Linked DNA regions of Homo sapiens: regions 1, 2, 4, 5 and 6 are each linked to region 3. The links are contacts of gene promoters, found by promoter capture Hi-C in blood cells and fetal thymus (Javierre and others, 2016). All regions are on one chromosome and are shown on one strand. The core of a region is centred on a gene start or on the middle of the fragment in contact, and the rest is flanking DNA. Distances in the headings are between cores, read along the strand shown. Region 1 overlaps LINC01374 (long intergenic non-protein coding RNA 1374). Region 2 holds the start of HECTD2 (HECT domain E3 ubiquitin protein ligase 2). Region 3 holds the start of HTR7 (5-hydroxytryptamine receptor 7). Region 4 holds the start of TNKS2 (tankyrase 2). Region 5 overlaps LINC01374 (long intergenic non-protein coding RNA 1374). Region 6 overlaps LINC01374 (long intergenic non-protein coding RNA 1374).

Evidence for each region. The method cuts DNA at HindIII sites, captures the fragments that hold promoters and counts their contacts. A CHiCAGO score of 5 or more calls a contact.
Region 1: a fragment that was not itself captured here is called in contact with the fragment with the promoter of HTR7 in region 3 in 5 of 17 cell types (M0 macrophages, M1 macrophages, M2 macrophages and 2 more); the score reaches 9.8 in M0 macrophages.
Region 2: the fragment with the promoter of HECTD2 here is called in contact with the fragment with the promoter of HTR7 in region 3 in 10 of 17 cell types (fetal thymus, activated CD4 T cells, total CD8 T cells and 7 more); the score reaches 10.0 in fetal thymus.
Region 4: a contact is called between the fragment with the promoter of TNKS2 here and the fragment with the promoter of HTR7 in region 3, in 4 of 17 cell types (fetal thymus, total CD4 T cells, activated CD4 T cells and 1 more). The highest score is 7.3, in fetal thymus.
Region 5: a contact is called between a fragment that was not itself captured here and the fragment with the promoter of HTR7 in region 3, in 2 of 17 cell types (M0 macrophages and M2 macrophages). The highest score is 9.0, in M0 macrophages.
Region 6: a contact is called between a fragment that was not itself captured here and the fragment with the promoter of HTR7 in region 3, in 2 of 17 cell types (naive B cells and M0 macrophages). The highest score is 6.6, in naive B cells.

What each region holds. Positions count from the first base shown.
Region 1 is chr10:89,884,920-89,887,619 of GRCh38, forward strand. All of the region lies in intron 1 of LINC01374 (long intergenic non-protein coding RNA 1374), which reads left to right. Among named protein-coding and RNA genes, the nearest start is that of LINC01374, 32 kb to the left of the region's middle. The HindIII fragment of the contact is 280 bases long and covers 1,205-1,484 here.
Region 2 is chr10:91,409,004-91,411,703 of GRCh38, forward strand. HECTD2 (HECT domain E3 ubiquitin protein ligase 2) reads left to right here and starts at 1,341. Exons shown (of 21, transcript NM_182765.6): 1 at 1,341-1,573. The coding sequence starts at 1,436. The region is part of intron 3 of HECTD2-AS1 (HECTD2 antisense RNA 1); the gene reads right to left. RefSeq lists an enhancer at 748-957 and a silencer at 1,108-1,697. The HindIII fragment of the contact is 4,522 bases long and covers 1-2,188 here.
Region 3 is chr10:90,856,703-90,859,449 of GRCh38, forward strand. HTR7 (5-hydroxytryptamine receptor 7) reads right to left here and starts at 1,337. Exons shown (of 4, transcript NM_019859.4): 1 at 431-1,337. The coding sequence starts at 969. RefSeq lists silencers at 935-984, 1,005-1,374. The HindIII fragment of the contact is 8,867 bases long and covers 1-2,747 here.
Region 4 is chr10:91,797,099-91,799,879 of GRCh38, forward strand. It overlaps TNKS2 (tankyrase 2), which reads left to right and starts at 1,328. Exons shown (of 27, transcript NM_025235.4): 1 at 1,328-1,791. The coding sequence starts at 1,593. It overlaps TNKS2-DT (TNKS2 divergent transcript), which reads right to left and starts at 1,193. Exons shown (of 2, transcript NR_108071.1): 1 at 1,139-1,193. RefSeq lists an enhancer at 1,037-1,206 and a silencer at 1,287-1,696. The HindIII fragment of the contact is 6,559 bases long and covers 1-2,781 here.
Region 5 is chr10:89,901,317-89,904,016 of GRCh38, forward strand. The region is part of intron 1 of LINC01374 (long intergenic non-protein coding RNA 1374); the gene reads left to right. Among named protein-coding and RNA genes, the nearest start is that of LINC01374, 49 kb to the left of the region's middle. The HindIII fragment of the contact is 659 bases long and covers 1,074-1,732 here.
Region 6 is chr10:89,862,201-89,864,900 of GRCh38, forward strand. All of the region lies in intron 1 of LINC01374 (long intergenic non-protein coding RNA 1374), which reads left to right. Among named protein-coding and RNA genes, the nearest start is that of LINC01374, 9.6 kb to the left of the region's middle. The HindIII fragment of the contact is 8,705 bases long and covers 1-2,700 here.

The DNA of each region.
Region 1 (2,700 bases), core at 95-2,594, 970 kb before region 3:
ATATAGTTAGGTTGGAACTCAGCTGGGATTCAACTTGTTTGCTGAAACTTCAGATACTATAAACTAGTATCCTGTGTAGTCAGAATTATATTATCTTGACTCATTAACTTTATTTAGCATCTATTTTATACTACATACTGATTTTATTAACTTCTAATCACTCTTGTTTCACTTGTTTGAGATAGGTAAAGCAGAATTTATCTGGAGTTTAAGATTAAGGCTGACAGATTAAATCTGCTTCTGTTATTGTTTGTTTCTGATATTAAAAGAGACTTCTTATTATGACCCCAGTCCATCCAAATTGTATACTATAATGGATTCTATATGAATAAATTAAGGGATCTAGATTTTAATAGTAAAACCATTTTATAGCAGCAGTAGTTTTATAAATGGATATTTTACCTCTTAAACAAAATGTAATTGGAAAATAAAATACACTGTCATTCAAATAACATCTCACGTTATAAATAATCAGTTTGGATGCAGCTACAAGATTTTTCTGGCACAGAAGTAAATTAAACACTTTAGTAAATTGTCAAACTGATGAAAATCCTAACCCTGTGCATGTTGTTTTAATGGTGTAAGAATATGGACAACAAGATGTTTTTGTTCTTTTATTTTTATCAGAGTAAATGGAAGAATAGTGTCACAGACAAAGGTTCTAGGATTTTCCTGGGAAAAGGAGGTTATAGCAGTTAGAAACGCCAGCAGTAGCTTACACCAATAATTTATTAAGATTTTTGTTTTTACATTATTGGCATTCCAGGGGTAGGTGGTTACTGTTGTAGGCTCATCTTCTCAACTCTCCCATCAGGGACCCAGTTACTTTCTATCATTCTGAACTGTTATTCTTCGCGTGTACACCTTCATTCTCCTGTTGGTTGCCTCACGGCTACGAGATGGCTGCTATAGGTCCAGCCATCAGGAAAAATGGGGAAGGAGCAGGACATGTAAGATCCTTTATCAGGCCACCTTCACATATATTTTCTAGACAAGGATTATATCACCGGGCCATATTTAGTTGCAAGGAGACTGGGAAAGTGAGGAACAGAATTGATTTGGCTAATCACAACTCATCTCCAGAGAATAGGCAATTTCTGCTTCCAAATAAAGTTGGATACTGTTCAGGAAGAACAGGCTGGATATAAACCGTTTGTGTTTTGGTCAGCAATATGTTCTGGTTTTGGTTTGGTGGGAAACAGGAAGCTTACTGAGGAAGGGAGACACCTGGAAGTAGTCTTAATCTGGCCATAAGGACCATGACACTCTAATATTATTTGATGGTGTGTGGGTTTCTTTTTTTCCAGAGACATCTATAAACATGGCTTTGTTACTAAGCCAAAGCCAATTATCTTTCAAAGTGATCTTCAGTTTGCTATTAGCTTCCCAGAAAGAACAGTATGATTATTAATAAGATTGAGACTAATAAACTACTGATGAGCACCAGTGAGCTAATTTGTAACCTCATTTTTATAAATGACATAAGCTTTTCACCCTAAGAAAAAGAGATATATTGAGAAGACAAACAAACAAAAAATCCAAAACTAATCTTCTTCCTCCAGACAGAATCTCTTCCTTCTTTTCTTCTAACATGAAATATTGTTGTTAACCAAATATTTTTCTTTTAAAATTCTAGGAATCACTTTTTGGAAATCTAGAATTAGTGAACTCAAATGGTTGTTAATGTTTTATTATTGAAATAGTGAAGCAAACTAAAATAATTAAAACTGATATGGATTACCATATTTATTAGCATATATTTCCTACATAATAAATAGTTTGCAGTTGATATGAGAAGAGAGGAAGCTGTGAGATTACCTGACTGGATGGACCTTTGCAGCACTGACACCTGCTGCTGAATTTCCAGAAATTTCTCCTGGCAAATCTCTGTGCTGAGAAAGGAGTAAACCAATTTAGAGAAGAGGCTTACGAGTCCAAACAGGAGCAGATGATGAAGAATCAGATAAACATTAACGCCTCAACCTACTTAAGCAACTAAGATTCAATTAAACCCAGTTCATACCTCTTTGGTAAGTCTGAAGTTTCAGAACACTTGCTCTAAAATTCAAATTACTGAGCTGTACAAATTATTTTTCCTCCAATTGTGTGATGAAATATGGGAAAGACAGAAAAAGACACAAATGCATATGGTAATCCAGAAAAGATTCCCCCTCCCTATTTTCTTTTGAGTTAGATAAAAGCTAGAGCACCTAACAGAATAAGATACCGAGAGAACCAGTGTAGTCATCCAAAACAATGAAACAACTATTTTAATTCATAAAAAAGCATCATTGTAGTAGCCTTCATTAGGTATTCCTTCTAAAGTCACTTTAAAGGAAAAAGAATATGTTCAGACATAGCAAAAGAAAAAAAACACGAAGGCAAAATTCCTTCAGATCAGGTTTTGGAGATTTTTTTTATATTAAACCCATTTTGTAAATAGGTTTTCCACCTGATTTAAACCAATCGTTTTGTTATTCAAAAGTCTAGGTTGTTGTTTTGCATTTTAAAATACAGCCATTCCCCAGGGAACTGTCTCTGCGATTAGAGGGAGAATTTTAAATTCCCCTTTCCACAGATAGATGTGTACAGGAAAGAACACCAAACTGAAAGAGCAGCTTGGCTCTGCCACCTATCAAATTAGGTAAATCTGTCTCCCTCTGGGTTTCACTCTCTCCTCTGTAATATGATAAGTACCTA
Region 2 (2,700 bases), core at 91-2,590, 550 kb after region 3:
ATTATGTAAACAATAGATACCCCGAAATCATATTTGGGTTTGTTTCAGAGATATTTTTGGTTCTTATATTTGGACTTAGGTACTCTTGATCTAAAAATTCACTCAACCTCCAATAAAATAATGAAGGCACAGATAAAAAATCTGATAGAGCTGAATATCGAAATTCCTTGCTTTTAACAGGCGATACAGCGCATTCTTACTCTCTTTTCTCCTAGATCAGCAGGTGTCCCCGCCGCTCCAGTAGACTGAGAAAAAGGAAAAGGAGGGGGCGACAAGAAAGGAAAGGAAATTGTCTAGGTGTCCTGGTGGTGGAGGTGGGGGGTATTTTAATTTCATAATTAAAAGCTCTCTTCTTCGGCTTTCAAGTTTTTACTCCTATTTGTAATGATTTGATTGAGGACTGTGCAGCAGAGTTTGGGTATGTACATCTCTAACATAAACGGAAAGGAACAAGGAAGGGACGGATAGGAGACAGCAAAGGGTTGCGGGGAGAGAGCAAAACGTAGGCGCGTGGGGACGGGAAGGGAGAGGCGGATTTGGCAGTCAAAGAGGGACGAGAGGAACAGGAATGGAAAGTGTGGACTGGCCGTCCAATCCTATGGGGGAAGGGGAAAGGGGGGGCCCACCACGTCGCACTCCTCCCCACCTCCAGGCTTTTCCTGTGTAGGCTGAAGCCATCCAGGCGTGTACAAAAGAGTCGGTTGCTGAGCCAGGAAGGCTGTCTCCCCGGGCTGCGCAAGCTCCGGGCCGCCTCTCCTGGGCTCAGGAGGGCGGGCAAGGATAAGAAGGCAGAAGCCCCAAGGCGGACAGCTTTGTGGGCGCCTGGAAGAAGGCGAAAGGCCACCAGCCCAGACCCCGAGGGCGCTTGCCCGCGGGACTCGGCGCCGCAGGCCAGGGCCGTCCGTGAAGGGTAGTCTGTGCCTACGTCCTGCCCTACTGGTACCACTCGGACACTCTATCCCCGTCCGACCCTTTGCAGGGCTCGACTTGTCTCCCCGACTGCCCGTCCTTAGTCCAGGTTCTCCTGCGCGGCCCGGGTGCGGGGTCTCCTCGTCATCTCGGGCGACACTCTGCAAACAATATGGCGGTCGGGCGTCGACCGTGGCGCCTTCTCTCCGGGCCCTCGGGGTTGACGAGGGGGACTACCGCCGGCGCTCCCGACCCGCGACGCGCGAGCCCCGGGCGGGCGGGGGAGGCGAGAGCAAGAAACCTGTGGGACCTGTGGGGAGCCGCGTCCGCGGGGCTGGCGCGCGCGGGGGCGGCCTCGGGCTCGCGCGCAAAGGCGCGGGCGCGGGCGGGGGCGGAGTGGCGGCGGCAGCGGCGGCTAGAAGCGGCAGCCCAGAGCCCTCTCGCGGCCGCGGCGGCAGCAGCAGCGCCAGCCCCAGCAACACTGAGGCCGCCGCCGCCGCCTGGCGCTCCCGCCGCCCGGCCCGACATGAGTGAGGCGGTTCGGGTACCCTCGCCCGCCACTCCGCTGGTGGTGGCGGCGCCCGCGCCTGAGGAGAGGAAAGGGAAGGAGTCAGAGCGCGAGAAGCTGCCGCCCATCGTATCGGCGGGCGCCGGCGCGACCGCGGTAGGTGGTGGGCCGGGGCCGTCTGGCGCCCCGGACGGCGGGAGTTGGGAGGGACGGCGGCCGGGCGAGGGCCGTCAGGAGGCCTGCGTTTACCCTGGGCACGCCCTGGCACTCCAGGGAGACGCACTCAGGCCGCCCTTCCTTGGGCAGAAATAAAAGAGTTGTGCCTCGTGGACAGCCCCGAACACTTCGCGAGGTACACCTACCACCCTCGGGAAATGTTGGGGGTGGTCGGTTCCGCTGGATGTTTGGGTTATTTTCTGGGGCTTGGGCCCCCACTTTCTCTAAGAGAATGACCTGCATCTTGAGTCGGCATGATCTGTTGGATGAGCATAGGTGTCAGCAGGCGGGAGTGGGTTTTCCACGGAGGTGCCTGCCTGCCTGCCTGCCTTGGAGGCGCGCAGATTTTTGTCCTTTTCTTCGCTTTTCTTTCCCTTCCCCCTTCAGATTAAACAGGCTCTGCGGCGAGTTTCCACTTAATTGTGACCTTTCCGTTGCTGTCAGTGTAGTGGGAGGTAGATGCATCAGTGATGGTTTTATTTTTCATATGGTACAGACATGTGACTCAGGTGGGGGGAGGCTTTTTGAACCTTTTATTTAAACCCAAGTTATCTAAGCTTGACAGGGATGATTTCCCAGCTGTATCTTCGTAAGGGTTATTTGGAGAGCGCTGTCAGGCTTCAAACTACATATTGCCAGATGATGTCATGGGACAGCCCCCTCCCCCTCTTTCCCTATTTTTACTGGTGGTTGTGACTGGTTAATTTGAAGCACAATTTAAAAAAAAACCTCGGATTTTGCAATTTTTTATTTTGACATAATATTTAAGTACTTTTTGAAAGTTTGCTTTGATATATTTAAAGATCATGACTTGTCATGCAGCTGTGTGTGACAAAATAGTAAAAGTTTAGTGAACATTATACATTTTCTTTATTCCTACTTGCGGTTCATTTCTTAAAACCTCCCTCTTAAATGACTAAGAACTTACTAAAATAGCTCACTCTTCGTTAAGTACTGTATTGGTGTTAGGAATAATTTTCGGATTCGGTAGGTTTTTCAAAAATGTCTGAGGGCCCTGATAACTGGAAATTGTTAAAACAAGCTCTTTAAATCAATGCAGCAAATTG
Region 3 (2,747 bases), core at 87-2,586:
GAGTAGCTCCCACAATGGGGTAAGCAAGGTGGCTTTTCTCCGACTTATTATTATTATTTTTTAATGACTCTTTAAGGCTCACAGCAAGGCTTGATCAAGTCAGGGAGCACCAAATCCCTTCCTTCCAAAAACCAAGGCAAGGGACCCGCTGGTGGAAATGCTAAGGCTTAAAATACTCTTAACTTTGGTCTTAAATTCGTCACTACAGTAAACCAGAACATTTCCGGTTTTTCTTTTAAAGATGTACATAGGCTATGCCGTAACCGAAGTTTGGTTGGTGTAGGGTGGATTGGGGGGAGCGGTGTTTTAAGCGCAGCCCTTCATCCCGCCTTGAAGTCTAGCTTGATCCTCCCAGGAAAGGCGAGCGCGCGGGGCTGAGCTGCCAGCCGGTCCCCAGCCGGAGCCTGGGACGGGGCGGTCCGGCCCTTACCTGTCAATGCTGATCACGCACAGGGTCATGATCGAGGCCGTGCAGCACATGACGTCCATGGCGATGAAGACATTACAGAAAAAGTGTCCAAAGATCCACTTGCCCCCGATGAGGTCGGTGACGCTGACGAAGGGCATGACCGCCACAGCCACCGAGAGGTCGGCCAGCGCCAGGGACACGATCAGGTAGTTGGAGGGCTGGCGGAGCTTCTTGACGAAGCACACGGAGATCACCACCAGGCAGTTGCCCGCGATCGTCAGCAGCGTGATGAGCGTCAGGATGGAGCCGATCACAACTTTCTCGACTCTGCCGTAGTTGATCTGTTCCCCACAGCCGGAGGCATTGTCCGGGGGCGCGTCCCAGGTGGGCGCCGGGCTGGCTGTCACCTCGCTCAGCAGGTGCGGCGCCCAGGAGCCCGCGACCGGGTCGGCGCCACCGTCGGGGCTCAAGTCGGGCAGCCCGCGCCCCACTTCTGGCAGAAGGAAAGAGCGGAGGTGCCCGTAGAGGTCCGGGCGGCCGCTGCTGTTAACGTCCATCATCGCGCCGCCGTGTGCCGCTGCCCATGGAGCCGGCGCCCCGGCCACGCGCCTCCGGCTGCCGGCCCCGGGGCTTCACCTCACCGGTTCCGCTCCGCCCGGCCCAGCCATGGGGCCCGCGCCGACCGCTGGGGGGCGCCTGGCTCTGTCTCGGAGCCCCGCACTCCCCGGACCCCCGGCCGCTGCGGGTAACGCGGCAGCGCGGCCTCACGGGGACTCCCTGCGGGAGGCGCTTCGGCCCCCGACGGACGCCTGGGACGCGCGGAGTCGAGGGAGCTCGGGCTGGGCTCCGCTGGCAGCTCCACAGTTCGCAGCAGCAGCTCGGCTGCGCCGAGAGCGCCCGGGCGGCAGCGGCAGAAGTTGCGGAGTGCGCCCCGCCCCTCGCGCCCGCCGCCGCCGCCGCCGCCGCCGCCGCTCCCCTGCGGCAGCCGCGCCGCGTCCCCGCCGCCGCCGCCTCCGGCCGCTGCCCGCTCCCTCGCGCTCCTGGGACGGGATACCCGGGCTGGGCAGGCACCGCCGCCTCTCCCGCGCCTCCCTACTGTGAGGGGGCGGCGCTGCACGCGCCTCCCGGGATCCCGGGTCCCCTCGCCCGGGAAGCTGTCCTTGCCGCATGATAGATACTTAGAACCCCTCCAGCCGACCCCAGCCTCCGCACACTAGTCAGCCACAGTTCAGTGGGGGCATTTTTCTTTTGTTAAGAGGCCTAATGAGCCAGCGGATGTTTGGGCTCATTGCGAAATGAAGAACCTAGAGGGGGATTTTATTTTTCTTAATTAAACAACAACCAAAAAAACGTCTCTGAGCACTACACTAAGCAACAAATAGGTACTTCCGTTTTCTATTTTGACCGCTTATGGGAAGAAGCGAAGATGGAAAAGAAGCAGCCGAATGGGGTGAGGGTGGGAGCTCCGAGAAGAGGAAGAAAGAAAAAAAGGAGGGAGGGGGATTCCTTAAGCCCCTGGCACCCAGGAGATGAGGATGCTCTGGGGACAAGGCCTCCAAGGGGGTTACACCCATTTGGACTAATCCTTCCTGGATGTCTAGAAACAGTCCTCTCCGCTCTGAAAATAGACCCTGATTGCCTTTATATTTAGACTTCAAAGCCTAATATATTGAAAAGAGAGTTAATTTTCCCGTAGCATTCTGGAAGTCTTACACATAAGCAAAGAAATGACCGGTTATACTCTTCTATAAAGGAATCCTGGAGGTGTATGTTGATTTAATACCTATTGGCTAAAATTCCCCTTGGTATCCAAACCCTGTCAGAGCGGCTGATTTTTATTATTTGTGAGACTTGCTTCATTCCATTTTGTTTGAAGGTTTCATTGGAAGCCAGCAGTGATTTCTGTAGTTTAAGACTCTAAAAATAATCAAATCTGTTTTTTCTTGTTAGGCCCTAGCGGATTATAAATAAGAAGAAAAGGAATAAAAACCTCAAAGTATATTGATCAGAGTGCTGAATAGTACTTTCATTCTTCAAGGTGGGTATTAGCTCTGTTTTTCCAGATAGGGAAGGTTGTTAGCTCTTGCAATCAGCTGGTAAGGAATAGTTATGTTTCAAACCCAAGTTTATCTGATTACTATGCCCATATTCTTCCCTGTACACATTCAGAAAAAGTTTTAATGGAAAAAAAAAAAAGCCCTAATGTTCACAGCTCTTTTGCTGTGATCAACATTTCAGAGGCTCCTCTCTGCCTAGGATAAGCAAACCAATCCATTGAGTCAGAGGAAGAGTTGAATATAATACCTAGGCCACAAAGCAATATTATCTAACAGTTAAG
Region 4 (2,781 bases), core at 78-2,577, 940 kb after region 3:
GTTTAAGGGAACAGATAGGCCCCAGGAGAGGGAGAGAGATGGCAGAGTAGCCTGTCAGTGGGGCAGTCAGAACATACACATTTATTGATTGATTGCTGTCTTCTATGGGTGTGGTTTGTGGTGCCTCAAAACAATTACAACAGTGATTTCAACTTATCACTGATCATAGATCACCATAGCAGATTTATGGGAAGAAAAATGATAAACGCAATCATATTGGTAGTGTTCTAGTCCTAGGTTCGTTCATGCATGTTCATGTTATTGATAAGCACCATAACTTCAATTTCATATGTATAAAAATGCTCAAAAAAGTGTACATCCTCTTTTAGCACTGTAGTGAGTCAACATTCCCCAACAAAAACTGGATTTCCTGAAAAACAGGTTAAGGTAGGAGGTTGGGGGGGGGATGCTTTTCAGAATGGCAAAGGTCAACATGTATCATCTTCTGTAAGTAAAATGTATGTATAGGCATACCTTTCTTTCAGTTTAAGACAAGGGGGTGTAGTGGGGAATTATCGTGTAAAACTACACCAGTATCTTAAGCATGAAAATCAATTATATGCTTTTCTTTTGTTTGTTGGTCAAAGAAAAAGATTATAACTCAGAAAACTTTCTTGGAGATGCGTATGCTCAGTGTATCCAAACTTTAGGCATGTCAGGTACAATATTGATTTACAAAAAGTTCCTCTAATCAATCCTGAGCTAATAACTTACTGTGGAAAGAGTAATTGATCAGAGCCATCCCTCCAATTGGAGTCAACTTCCATGACTGTTCGGATTTCCTTTATTTTGGGGGCAGTTCATCCAAACTTCTATTAAACGGCAACTAGTTCACTTTTGAGAAGTGGTTTACAAGAAACAACAACAACAACAACAAAGCAGTTGCGGAGGAAAGAAAAGAGACAAAGTAAAAAAAACGGAAAAGAAATCTCCCAGGAGAAAGGGATGTGGAAGCTGAAAACACGGACAATTTCCACAGTAAGACTTCCAAAAGAATGTGCAAGATCCGAGCAAAACTTTCAAGGGCTCTTTTTCAGTGTAATGGTAGTGAGAAAGTTCAGCCTGGAAAGCCCAGGGCTTAAAACAACAACAACAAAAAACACAATATGCAGGATCGTTCGGCTTCAGCAGAACCCACCGCAAAGATGGCGGTGGGACGAAGCCCCTTCTCCCGCCGCCGAAGCCTCTCGCCTCACATTTCCCACAAACCCTTCGCGCCGCCTCGCTAGCCGAAACCTGCCCAGCCGGTGCCCGGCCACTGCGCACGCGCGGGACGACGTCACGTGCGCTCCCGGGGCTGGACGGAGCTGGCAGGAGGGGCCTTGCCAGCTTCCGCCGCCGCGTCGTTTCAGGACCCGGACGGCGGATTCGCGCTGCCTCCGCCGCCGCGGGGCAGCCGGGGGGCAGGGAGCCCAGCGAGGGGCGCGCGTGGGCGCGGCCATGGGACTGCGCCGGATCCGGTGACAGCAGGGAGCCAAGCGGCCCGGGCCCTGAGCGCGTCTTCTCCGGGGGGCCTCGCCCTCCTGCTCGCGGGGCCGGGGCTCCTGCTCCGGTTGCTGGCGCTGTTGCTGGCTGTGGCGGCGGCCAGGATCATGTCGGGTCGCCGCTGCGCCGGCGGGGGAGCGGCCTGCGCGAGCGCCGCGGCCGAGGCCGTGGAGCCGGCCGCCCGAGAGCTGTTCGAGGCGTGCCGCAACGGGGACGTGGAACGAGTCAAGAGGCTGGTGACGCCTGAGAAGGTGAACAGCCGCGACACGGCGGGCAGGAAATCCACCCCGCTGCACTTCGCCGCAGGTAACCGGGGCCAGCGTCCCCTCGCCTCGCTCCAGACCCCACCTGCGCAGCCGGGGCCCACAGGTCTGAAACCAGTGCTCCTCCGCCTCCCGACCTTTCTCCAGGACTCTGGTCCTGGTGATCTCGCTCTCTTCCAGTGGGGACTAAGGAGATTAGGGGTAGGGTGAGCGTGCCACACTCGCTGGAAGTTTTTTGTTTTGTCTTGGTTTGGTTTTTTTGCCAGGTGTTGGGGGTGGTTTGGGGTTTTGGCTTTGTTTTGTTTTACAGTATCAACAATACCTGTACCAACTTCCGGTCTTGTTACCCTAGAAGGCCTCTACACACAAGAAAGAGTAGGGGACGTAGTTGATAGACCTTATGATTTAAAAGGTCAGTTACCTCCAAAATTTTTCGTTCTTGCAAGTTCCATTTGGGTTAAGGTCTTGAAGGACTTTGTAAAATACAAGGATGTAATTTAGGAGGAGTAGCTTAATAGGACGTTGACACATTAGCGTTAATTGGTTTATCAGAATAGCCAATCATTACCAAGTTTCTGGAGTGACTAGAACGGGAAATAGGCAAGTTTGGGAGAACTGAAACCTGACTTAGGCTGGGTGCGGGAAGCCTTAGACACACACACATACAAGTTGGGCGGAAAGTGGTAGTATAAGAGAAAAGATAGTGCAAGTACTTTAGCTTGAATCTAGAATTTAAGTTGGGACTAACCTTGCTTCATTCTGAAATTTAGATCGTTTGAATTACATTATTTTAATATTTATTAGGTTCACTTTATGATTTAAGCATATTAAATTTAGTCGAAAAATTTAAAAGAGCCATAGATGGGATATTCAGCTTATTCCCATAAAGCATGCATGCTGTTCACTTGTAGGAAAGATGATGACTGTTTCTAACTTCAGGTGAGTCATGCGTGATTGAAAATGGGAGTACCTCCTCTTACCTCTGACAATCCTGGTTTTTTGTTTTGTGTATTTCATGATTGTTTAAAACAAT
Region 5 (2,700 bases), core at 153-2,652, 960 kb before region 3:
ATATCTCTGTATCTATTAATATCTATCTATCACCTTTTCTAAAAGAATAAGAAGCAGTAGGATGTGTCCTGTTTATTTTAGGCTATAGTGTATGGTTGAATTTGTTCACCAAGTTTTGTTTTATAATCTAGAATTTTGATATAACTCAATGTTTCTAATTTTTGAGAAATTACAGAAAATGGAATAGATTTCAAAATAGTGGAGCAAATTTCTGGGCAAACTTGATTCTTTCACAAAGGAAAAAGGAGAATGAAGTCTGCACACCACAGACTGGTGTCCTTGAGACTAATATTGGGAAAGACTGTAGAATAAATTACTGAAAGATAATTACTAAATATTTAGCTAAAGAAAGTGTATTCGCTAAAAGATAATAATAAATTTGTAAAACTCATGATTGTCCAAGTATTTCACTGTACTGTATCATAGAGTATCTTTACTCTTAAGGTTATGTCTATTGTTCCTATAAGATAGAAATACTGTATAATGGTATGCTACTGCCATGCTTTCCTTCTCAATGCTGTGTTCATTAAGTCAACTTGGCAGCTTGAAATTGGTCTTGGTGGGAATATTTATACCAGGAAAATCAGCAAATGCTATAAGTCAGATCTGGATTTTTTTGTTGTTGACTGTCTAGACTTAAGAAAGTGATGAAGCAAATGTAAATAATACAAATAGACACAATAGTATGTTGTGTCTATAGCCATTACACTGTGAATAGCATATAACATTAAGAAAATATTTTTGCAGTATTTGAAAACTGTTTGCCAATTCAGCAAATAAATCATTCACATCATTGACAGATAAACAAAGTTCCAACATAGGTCCCTGCTGTTTTGCTTTTGTCCTTACTTGTTAACATGAATGAAAGTATCAACCAAAATTCATGTCATAAATAAGCTCATTCATTGTTTGCAACCATAGGTTGAATACAGATACAAGATTCAGCAAAAATCGGCAAAAGCATTCTGTGAGAATCAATTTCTACATGAAATTTACAATAAAGAGAGTGGTGTATTTTATTATTATTTGTAAATTTTGAGTTATAATTCTTTATATCAGTAAAATTTGTAATAAGCTTTTATCAATACAATTTTGTGTGTATGTATATATGTGTGTGTGTATATATATGTGTGTACATGTGTGTATATATATACATATGTACATATCTATACATACATATACATGTATATACATATACATATATATACATGTGTATATATATACACACACACACATATATACATACACACACACACACACACACACATATATATATATATATATTTTTTTTCCCCTCCCTCAAATGACTGGTTGTTAAACATTTACCAACACACCGTGGCCTAAACTTATCCCTAAATCCCATCCTGCTTATTTTCTCCTGTTGAGATACTGAGTACTATTCCCTCAATTATTCTTTCTTTGATTTCCTATGTAATGTGTAGAATGTCCCATTATATTTGGGCATGTATTTCTCTTCTATAATACTTAACTTTGAGTTTCAGTCACTGGTCATCCTATTGGCAACTCTCTGGGAAAACATGTCTTCTCCCTCTCTTTGTGACATGCATTATGGCCTTAGCTTATAGCCCATTATTCTATCATCAGGTCCTGAAAATGGAAATTGATTTTACAGCACATCTTGTAGCCATTTGTTCACTTCCCACTTTTTCCTTTCTCATCCAAATTACAACTCTCAACTCTAATGATGTTGAAATATATGAAGTCCCACTTAAGCTTGCAAGTCCTCCAGCTTCCCTCCATGGACTTCATAGTCCTGGGAGATGTTTTCTAGGCCTCTATGGCAGAATTCGCAGTCTCCACATGTCAGTAGAAGCAGGGAGAAGGTAACTGTCATGGCCTCCATATTCTCCATAGATGGGTCTGCTACTAGGAGGACATGTCAGGCTTATGAGAATCAAATCTCTGTTATGCCAAGGAAGTTGACATTGAAGACTGAGTGCTTTTTACTGCAGGCCAAGAAACAGGCTTCTTGGAGCTTTCAAGAACTACTCTTCTTGTTATAGGAGGTAAAAATAACCACTTCTCTGATAAGTGACAATTCTTCCTGTGTACCTGTGAAGAAACTGCCTCAGACTATTGTAAGGCCTTATTGCTCCAGTCTCCTCTCATCATCATCTTCTTGGTCATTTTCTTCCACGCACTAGTGTCTCCTCAGGCTTCTTGTTGTCATCACCTTCTTGGTTATTTGAGGTTTCAGCTTAGAGGTCTCCTCCAAGAAGCCTTCCCTGCGTGGTAGGGCTCCTAGGTACCCCTGCAGCACTCTGCACTCTGACTGCAGAAGTGGTGGCATTGCTACATAACTGCCTTACTTCTAAACTGTTTCTCACACTGCTCTGTGAGAACAGAGACCATGTCTCTTTTCTCTATGACTTTATCTTCAGCCCCAGTGTAGTGCCTAATAAAAGGCAGGCACTCAATATATGTGCACTGAATGAAGCAATGAATGAATCATTGAGTGTTTTCTTTCACATATTATTTCCTTCATTTTCTCTTTAGCTCCTCATTGTGAATATAAATAGAGAGTCCTCCACTTCTTATGCAGGAAGAGGAACCATTATGCAGGGAGACCACTCATATTTGACACATATAGCAGTAATTGCTTATGGAAAAAATTCAAGTGCAACACAGTTCCACCATTTTGTCATCTTATTTTAATGTAAGAACAGAGCCTCTTGGAAA
Region 6 (2,700 bases), core at 34-2,533, 990 kb before region 3:
ATGAAAGTGAGTCAGGAACAGACTTTGACTCCTTTTTAATTGTTATGTGAGTCATTTGCATATTAATCTAAAGCCTAATTTGTTCAGCTCCCTGCTTCTTAAAAGTACATGCCAAATGACTGTTTGGTGCTTTTTAGGGACAGTATCAGGGTCTGTTCCCAGGCATTGGGAGTTGAGAGAGGGAAAAGTTGAAATAGGACAAAATATAAACAACTAAGATAGAGTTTTTTTTCAATAGGCTGGAGGACCTCGTAGTAGCATCTCTGGGTGTGCTGTCCCCTTATCATTTCACAATGCCTGACATTCCAACACAATGGATTCAAGTCCTTCTTTTTAATTTTTATTTATTTGTTTAATTTCAATAGTTTTGGGGGTACAGGTGGCTTTTGGTTACGTGGATAAGTTCTTTAGTGATGATTTCTGAGGTTTTTCATGCACCCATCACCTGAGCAGTGAACACTGTACCCAATATGTAGTCTTTTATCCCTCACCCTCCTCCATCCTTCCCTGCCAAATCCTCAAAGTCCATTATATCCTTCTTATGCCATTGCCTCCTCATAGCTTAGCTCCCACTTTTAAGTGAGAACATATGGTATTTGGTTTTCCATTCCTGAGTTACATTACTTGGAATAAGGGCCTTCAACTCCATCCAAGTTGCTGCAAAGGCCATAGTTCCATTCAATTTTAAGGCTGAGTAGTATTCCATGGTGCATATATACCACATTTGTTTATCCACTCATTGGTTGATGGGCATTTACATTGGGTCCATATTTTGCAATTGCGAGTTATGCTGCTGTAAACATGTGTGTGCATGTGTCTTTTTCATATAATGACTTCTTTTCCTTTGGGTAGATATCCAGTAGTGGGACTGCTGGGTCGAATGGCAGCTCTACTTTCATTTCCTTAAGGAATCTCCATACTATTTTCCATAGTGGTTATACTCATTACATTCCCACCAGCAGTGTGAAAGTGTTCCCTTTTCTCTGCATCCATGCCAATATCTATTATTTTTTGATATCTAAATTATGACTATTCTTGCAGGTGTAAGGTGGTATCTCATTGTGGTTTTAATTTGTCTTTCCCTGATAATTAGTGATGTTGAGCATTTTTTCATATTTTTCTTGGCCATTTGTATATCTTCTTTTGAGAATTGTCTACTCATGTCCTTTGCCCACTATTTGATGGGATTATTATTATTTTTTCTTGCAGATTTGTTTGAGTTCCTTGTAGGTTCTGGATATTAGTTCTTAGTTAGATATATAGTTTGCAAATGTTTTCTCCTACTCTGTGGATTGTTTTTTTCACTCTGCTGGTTATTTCTTTTGCTGTGCAGAAGGCTTTTAAATCAAGTCGTTCTTTAAAATGAAAATAGCTTTTGAGGGGAAAGGGGTGGGAAGTGGGACACCATACACTAGTTTTTGGTCAGAAAAATGATTTAGTGTATCAGTTCCAGTAAACAATGATGGTGTAGACATTGGATACTGAGCAGATTACCTGAGTCCAAATTCTTTGTGCAAATTCTTTAGCCTTTATGTTTCTCCATTTATTATACTGACATGAGGATAATGATGATGCTATCTAGTAGTTGCCATTAGGATGTAATGCACAACAATATGTCAGGAACATAGTGTAGTGCCTGCCTGGTAGTAATAAATGTTAGCTATTATTATTATTTCTCATTAATGTCAAGTGGCAATGGAGGGATAATTTTATAGCTGGAGCTGAGAGTGGCGAGAGGGAAAAGTTGAGATAGGACTAAATATAAACATCTAAGTTACAGTTTTTGTGTTTTTTTTCCCACAGGCTAGACCTAGCATCACTGGGCATGCTATTTCTTACTGTGTGCCAGTGTTTCAGACCAGAATGATAGATGCCTCCTTCACCCCTCTCTGGACTAATGGGCGATAAAGATTTTGTAATGAGACATGGAGAGATTGTTCTGTTTCCTACCTACTGCATCTGGTGTTTGCTTAGTTGACTGTCTTTTTTTCTCCAGGCAGTAAGTTACTTGAGGACACGGACTTTGTTGTATCAATCTTTTAAATATTACCACTAGCACAGAACCACTGAGAATATATTTATTTCTAAATAAAATATTCCTTGAATGAACAAATAAATAAATCTTCATATTTAATTCTTGAGGAAATCAGTTGTCTATATGTGTAGGCAGATATATTTAGATATTTATGTTCACAGCTAAATTTTTAAATAATCAAGATGATGCTAAATTCTATGTGCAAACTTGAGCAGATTCCAGAAATACTTACTCTGTTACTGGTCAGTGAAATTCACTTCTCCTTCAATTCTAGAGAAAACAAAAATCCCAAGCAAAATGATACAAGCCATTTAAACTCTCAAAAGTCTCAAAAAGTAGAAATGTTACCCACTGGAGCATAAGATGAACCAATTGAGGATGAGGATTTGAGAAATAAAATGTTTCATTTTTATCGACAGCGAGCCAGTATGATATTAAGACAAAAGACAGCCCTTGATGAAAGAGGCAGTCAATTCTATCTTTGAGAATTCAGTTTTAAAAAAACCAGATTAACTGGTGATTTTCCTGAAGTGACCTGTCAATTTGTTCCGATAGGTTAATTTGGTAGAATCAGCCTCAGATTGGTTTTTCAGCGTGTACCTTAATTGTATTACTTTTCAGCAAAATATTTCTGTCAATCAGAAAATGTTTTTAGAATTAACCTG